Linked DNA regions of Homo sapiens: region 1 is linked to region 2. Evidence: promoter capture Hi-C in 16 types of primary human blood cells and fetal thymus (Javierre and others, 2016). All regions are on one chromosome and are shown on one strand. Each heading gives the region's core, a stretch centred on a gene start or on the middle of the fragment in contact. The rest is flanking DNA. Distances are from core to core; before and after follow the strand shown. Region 1 has its middle 76 kb from the start of STOML3. Region 2 holds the start of CCNA1 (cyclin A1).

Region 1 (3,677 bases), core at 1,157-3,656, 2.5 Mb before region 2:
CTCTCCATTTATTTAAATATTCTTTGTTGCCTTTCATACGTGTTTTGTAGTTTTTTCACATATATATCCTGTACATACTTTGTTAGATGTATAATTGTATTTCATTATTTTTGATGCTGTTGTAAATTGTATTTTTTAAAATTTCAAATTCTAATTGCTCTTTACTGATATATATGAAAGAAATGGACTTTTGCATATTAACCTTGTATTTTGAGACCTTGCCAAACTCACTTATTAGTTCCAGAAGTTTGTATTGTTCTTGTTGTTGATAGGATTTTCTAGTTGTTCAATAATGTAATCTGTGAGTAAAGAAAGTTTTATTTTTCAAAAGTCAAGTACGGCCGGGTCCGGTGGCTCACGCCTGTAATCCTACTACTTTGGGAGGCCGAGGCGGGCGGATTGCCTGAGCTCAGGAGTTCGAGACCAGTCTGGGCAACACGGCGAAACCCCGTCTCTACTAAAAATACAAAAAAATTAGCCATGGCGGCGTGCTCCTGCAGTCCCAGTTACTCTGGAGGCTGAGGCAGGAGAATCGCTTGAACCCGGGAGGCGGAGGTTGCAATGAGCCGAGATCGCGCCACTGCACTCCAGCCTGGCCGACAAAGCCAGACTCCGTCTCCAAAAAAACAAAAACAAAAACAAAAAAAAAAAAGAAAAGAAAAGAAAAGTACTATTACTCTTGGCACATTCTGGCACTGGGTGAATTAACTTTCTTTGTTTGTGATCTTTGTATTATCACTAGAGGGCGCCATGAGACAAACTATCCTGTATGGTTTTTTCATTACATAAGGGCATCCCTGTGAAATAGGTAATGATTAACATAAGGGTGAAGGGAATTATAATTCACAAACTAGTTAAAAATAACACCTTGCTCAGCCTGAAGGGGATGAGTGCAAGACAGAGGGCAGGCCCCACCTCTGATGCCGTGGTTGCAATGCTAGGAGCTAATTGCCTTTAAAGTTGGCTTGAGTTCTTTTTGATCACCAACTCAGCTCTCTCGTTTTCCCCTAGAATTGTTGCTCTGAATTATTCCTCAGTGCCAAATGCTTAATTTTTCCCAGGTAATGAGTGAATTGTACAAGGGTGGTGAAAGAACATGCTTGAAAATGTCTTTGAGGGCTAATTTTTAAAATCTCTAAATTGGTTTCCTAAACACAATTAGTTTTGGCTTTTAAAAAAAGTTTTAGTTTATTAATTGTATAAATTTAAGAAGCACAACATGATATATTGACATATTTATACATAGTGAAATGATTATTACAGTTAAGCAAATTCATCATCTCACATACTCTTTAAATACAAGTATTTCTGAATGGCATCCTCAAGAATCTTATAAGCAGAGCCATCCCAGAAGACAGTGAGTGCTACCTGTTAAGGCTCAGGCAAGAGAAAAACGTAGGCAAGGTGATGGGACCGGGAGAAAAGATTGAGGGATTTATTGAGTCAAGACCAGCTCCGTATCAGTCACTTTTCAGAGTTTTGAAATGCATCTACAAGAGTGCCTGTGAAACACTCTTAAAACAGGCAATTCTAATTCAGTATGGTATGGCATTGAATAGAGATGTACGAGATGCATGGAGTAAGGGGAATTGGGGAGTAATCTACATGGCTTCTGGAGGAACCTCTGAGTCATGGCCCTGGAAGTGTTAGAGGTAGGTCCTGAGAGTATGTGAGCATTTGCCTTGGAAGGTGCCTAGCCCACCATCACTGACTGGGGAAAGCATGGCTAAAGTACCCAGGCATGGAGGGATGTATTTGGAGCACTGAAAGCCATTGGTATGGCTAGAATTTAGGGCAATAAAACTAAGAGAGAGAAAATGGCCAAAATCCCGGTCAAGGTGGCATGTCCATGACTCTTCTGAGGAAACCCAAACAAGGGAGAAAGGGGGTGGTTAGCAGAGGTCCCTGATATCCCCTCCTTTTTCAGAATATCTAATGATGATTCCACCTTTCAATTGAACACCCGTAAAATCAGAAACCCCAAATTCTGTTGTGCATGACTCATTGTCACGGACACATCTGTCCTCTTCTCCTGTGTGTACTTTCACTTTGCAATAAAAGCTTCTTGAGCCTTTGTCCCTGAATTCTTCGTAGTGATGGTGTCAAGAATCTGGACGCCAGGTGGGGCTGCGGTCTCACAGGTATCTGGAGACCCTCCTGAGCCCTCTGGCAACATGATTTCCTGGCTTTGTTCTATTTAATTTAGTTTAATTTAATTTTTTTTGAGATAGAGTTTCACTCTTGTTGCCCAGGCTGGAGTGCAATGGTGCGATCTCAGCTCACTGCAACATCCACCTCCTGGGTTCAAGTGATTCTCCTGCCCCAGCCTCCCGAATAGCTGGGATTACAGGCATATGCCACCACCACACCTGGCTAATTTTGTATTTTCAGTAGAGGTGGGGTTTCTCCATGTTGGTCAAGCTGGTCTCGAACTCCTGACCTCAGGTGATTCACCTGCCTTGGCCTCCCAGTGTGCTGGGATTAGAGGCATGAGCCACTGCGCCTGGCCTATTTACTTTTTTTTTAAATAAAAAAGTATAAACAAAGTTGCGGTTGTGCTTTCCTTATTAATGTTGGACTTCAAGCTACCTCCACCAACTGAAACATAATCTCAAGCTGAATAAACAGGCCATGGAGAAAGCAGGAGCGTTTTTATTTAAAATATTTAAGTATTTCACTCCATACAGAACTAACGGAACTTTTGATTTAGTATTATGCATAACATAAAAATTAGCAGTTTATTAAGCTTTTCTATTTCCTCTGGCAATATTTATTTTCTGCTAGGCTATTATTCTACACACTTCAAAAGCCATTAATGGCACCCTTTTCTAACCAAACAGGACAATGATTAATGTCACCAAGACATTTTTCTCTCCTTTTCCTTTCCATAATCTGTGCCAGGTACTGTATTAAGTCACTCAGTAAAAATTCCAGGGATAAAAGTTCTGAATTTCTATTCATAGAAATGTGAGGAAAATGTGTGATTTAATGGGAAAGCAAGAATAAAATAAAAGGGAATTTTAAAAAGTCATTTAGGCCGGGTGTGGTGGCTCACGCCTGTAATCCCAGCACTTTAGGAGGCCGAGGAGGATGGATCAACTGAGGTCAGGAGTTTGAGACCAGCTTGGCCAACGTGGACAAACCCCGTCCCTGCTAAAAATACAAAAATTAGCTGGTCGCAGTGGCGAGCACCTGTAATCCTAGCTACTCGGGAGGCTGAGGCAGGAGAATTGCTTGAACCCAGGAGGCAGAGGTTGCAGTGAGCCGAGATTGCACCATTGCCCTCTAGCCTGGGCAACAAGAACAAAACTCTGTCTCAGAAAAAAAAAAAAAAGTTATTTAATAGTTTTCATTTCCCCCTTGTGAATATGGGTAAAACCACCGCAGCCTCCCAACAGCCAGGACAACACTGGAGTCATTAACACTCAAGATCATTTTCCAGTGTTTTCGGGTGCCCCTCTCAGAGCATCTCCCGTGTTCTGAGTCTGTTTCTTTACCCTCTGAGCTTTTATATCTGATCTGGTGTTTCTTACCCAAAGGCAGTTGCCCTCAGCAACTGGTAAAGTGTTCAAGGGTCAGTGAAAGGCTAAAAAAAATGTATGTAGGAGGAGGCCATCCCAAGGTTGGGCAACTACTTCTACCAAAAGAGAAAAAAAGTCCTCTACTTAAATTTGTTA
Region 2 (3,547 bases), core at 981-3,480:
ATATTTTTAGGAAAATAAGATACAAAGTGATCAGCTGAGACTGGGCATGAAGGAGGAGGTTACTGAGGATTAAACAGAGAAGGGAAGGTACAAAATAGATTTCTAAGCAGGTTGTAGAGGATAGGTACAGGGAAATGCAGAAGTGGCACCAGGTAACATAAGAGGTTAGCAACTGGGAATTTAAAATGCGACCATTCAACACAGGCACAACTGACAATTCATAAGAACCAAGTCTCAGGCGTTAAGTTTTAAAAAGCAAACATTGCTAAGCAAATTAAAATTTGTTAAAACCACTTCCACTCAATTTTCTCCAAAGCTTTGAACAGAGCATGTGAAGAGTCAGTAGATGAGAGGCTTCTAATCTAGTTTCTACCATAGCTTTCTTTTGGCAGAGGCTTAAACCTTTCAGATTTTCTCACTTATGAAATAGGAAAGGTATAGTTTTCAGTCTGGTTAAGGTATCTATGATCAGTTAAGTTCACACAACTAATATCTGAGGGACCATTACCTGTTAGCATAGCTGCTTAGTCAGTACTGGGAAGATGTCTGCCTTCAAAGCACCCATTTTGGAGTAATCTAATCTAGCCTGATCTAATCCTGATTTTAACACTATCCGCAATGAACACAGCCAAGATTATCCAGGTTTGCTTTAGGCACAGCCTGCATCAATGTGAACACTGCTCTAACCTGGAGGAACCCCAGTTCCACAGTTTATTTGGAAGCATTCACATTTCCTTTTAGCCCAGCCCTTAAATTACTTTAATATACATAACCCAAACAGTTCCTAGACCTATTTCCTTGATAGTGGAAAAAATAACAAAGAAAACTAATCACTATTTCTAGCTGAAAACCGAACCCCTCAAGGTGATCTTAAGAAATCAACTGGCCTGCCACCGTGGCTGACGCCTGTAATCCCAACACTTTGGGAGGCCGAGGTGGGCGGGTCACCTGAGGTCAGGAGTTGGTGACCAGCCTGGCCAACATGGTGAAATCCCATCTCTACTAAAAACACAAAAATTAGCCGGGCGTGGTGGTGGGTGCCTGAAATCCCAGCTACTCGGGAGGCTGAGGCAGGAGAATCGCTTGAACCCGGGAGGTGGAGGTTGCAGTGAGCCGAGATCGCGTCACTGCACTCCAGCCTGGCGACAAGAGCGAAACTCCGTCTCAAAAAAAAAAAAAGAAGGAAAGGAAAGGAAAGAAAAAAAAAGGAAAGGAAGAAGGAAGAGAAACAAAGAAAAAGAAAGAAGGAAAGAAAGAGAAAGAAAAGAAAGAAAGAAAGAACGAAAGAAAGAAAGAAAGAAAGAAAGAAAGAAAGAAAGAAAGAAAGAAAGAAAGAAAGAAAGAAAGAAAGAAAATAAATCAATCAACTTTCCTGTAGTCCAGATTCCAGGGTTGTAATACTCAGGGGGAGTTGTAGGTACAAGGGCAAGAGAAAAGCACCTGGCACCAAAGCAGGAGAGCTGTTCTCCACAAGCATCATTCTCAATGCGTCTGAGTCATTACCTGGCCACAGGTCCTCCTGTACTGCCCATTTGCAGTTAGCAGCCCTAGCACTGTCCTCTGCGGGGGATCCTGGCCCAGCGGGGCTCTGGTGAGTATCTGACAAGCATCGGGACCTCGGGCCACTGTAGCCAGCACAACTCCACTCTTGGGGTTGCTGCAGTGCATTGCTTCAGACTCCACGGGCTGCTGCTACCAGGGAAAGAGAAACAGACAAGCTGTTTAGTCGATTCCGTCCACCCCGGGCTCCAAGGACACAGCGAACCTCTAGGAGGGAGAGCACCAAGCAATGGGACTAACACCAATTGCTGATCTTCCCAGTAATTATTGGGGCTGAAAGGGCAGGTGCGACCGCACAGGCGATCAAAGTTGCTCTGAATCAAAACAGTTATTTGAATCCCTGAGGGAGGCTTTTTATCCCAAGACTTCGTGTTGGGCTGGAAGGAGAGAAACATTCTGACAAGCCTCCAAGTCGGGATACTAAACCCACGTTACCTGGAAGACGAAATCTGGGAGCCCCGGTCCTTCCCAGCTGAGATACTCTTCTCCCCAGCCCCCAATAAAAGATCCAGGGTACATGATTGCGGGAAAGCCGGTCTCCATCCCAAGTGACGAGCAGGGTGCTGCGCTGCGGCCTCCTCCCACCAGACAGGAGGCCCCAAAACCTGCCTGGACCCCAAAGCGGGCCCCGCTCTTCCCGTCGTTATCTTTCTATGTGTCCGGAACAACTGGCAAGTGCACTGGAGGATCGCGGTTAAGAGGTGGCCGGCTGGGCGGGGCAGGGCGGGGCAGGGTTGGGCAGGGCCGGGCCGGGCCGGGCGGGGCAGGGCGGGGAAGGGCAGGGAAGGGCAGGGCACGGAAGGGCGGGGCGGGAAGGACCAAGTGTCGAGGGATTCCAGCCTGGGAGGCGGCCGGGCTTAGCGATGCGGCTGAGCTGCCCACCCGCGTCTGTTGAATCGGCCAATCAGCGGCGCCCCCGGACCTAGCGGGAGCGTTTCCATGCCGACCGCGGCAGGCGTGCGCTCTCCGGGGCCGCATCGCCATGGCGACCTGCTCACCTGACTCGCTCCGGGTGGACTCGCCGCGACCCCTGGGCGTTCAGGCCCCTGAGGGCCCAACGGGCGACGGCCCTCCAGCTCCAGCTGTGCGTCTCCGCCCGGGCGAGGTGGGGCTGACCGCGGCCGTCTGCACACGTCCCCTCTGGTCCGCGCCCCCGGCCTGGGAGGGCGGACTCGCCCACCCCACGATGGCCCCGGCTTTGGAAGGGACTGTTTCCGTGACCCGTTCTCCCAACAGCCGCTAACAACCCCCTCTAACGTCTCCTGCGCGGCCCGCTCCTGAGAACCCTGGCTCGGGAGAGCGACGCGGGGTCCTCGGGGCTGCGCAGGCTGCGGCGCCCTGCCCACGCTGGCCCGAGGGCGCGGCTCGCTCCGGGTCGGCTCACACACCTACGCTTCCTGCCGGGAGGCGGCTGGGACGCGGCGGGGCTGCCCCAAGTGCAGTCGCGGCAGTGTTGCGTCTCCATCGCGGGGGTCCTTGCGGGCCGCGCCTGCCCCGCCCGGCTCCCGGTGCATGTGGCCTGCGAGGCGGCAGAGGAGATGTGGGGATTTAGGGTCGCACGTCGTGCTCGAGGTCCCCACGAGAGGTCTTCCCCCGCGGGCTCCTGCGCAACTGCGTGAAGCCGGCCCGGGAAAGCCAAGATTGTGGCCCAGGAAGAGGAAGGAACGCGGGCGACAGAGCTGGGGCTTGGGACGTTGAGGGGGTCGGTGGCAGCTCTCCGGGCTGGGGGCCGGGCGGGCGGCCCGGCCGCGTGGGGAGAGGAGTCCCTGGGGTCCTTATACGGGGGGCTCCTGGAAACCCGGGGGCTCAGACGCCTGCATAGGTGACTGACAAGCCAGGTGAAATAATCGAACTTTATTTTTTTAAAAATAATATGTATATATGCACACACACATTACCAATGCTATAGTCTGTTACTACTTTTGCTTTTTTTAAAACATCCATCCCTAAATCTCTAAATCAGATCCAAAGTCTATTCAAATGGCCA

Evidence for each region. The method cuts DNA at HindIII sites, captures the fragments that hold promoters and counts their contacts. A CHiCAGO score of 5 or more calls a contact.
Region 1: a contact is called between a fragment that was not itself captured here and the fragment with the promoter of CCNA1 in region 2, in 2 of 17 cell types (total CD4 T cells and total B cells). The highest score is 7.6, in total CD4 T cells.

What each region holds. Positions count from the first base shown.
Region 1 is chr13:38,912,695-38,916,371 of GRCh38, reverse strand. It overlaps the pseudogene ANKRD26P2. Among named protein-coding and RNA genes, the nearest start is that of STOML3, 76 kb to the left of the region's middle. The HindIII fragment of the contact is 685 bases long and covers 2,064-2,748 here.
Region 2 is chr13:36,431,178-36,434,724 of GRCh38, reverse strand. CCNA1 (cyclin A1) reads right to left here and starts at 2,230. Exons shown (of 9, transcript NM_001413923.1): 1 at 1,996-2,230; 2 at 1,504-1,692. The coding sequence starts at 1,668. RefSeq lists silencers at 2,337-2,496, 2,527-2,576, 2,857-2,926. The HindIII fragment of the contact is 15,627 bases long and covers 319-3,547 here.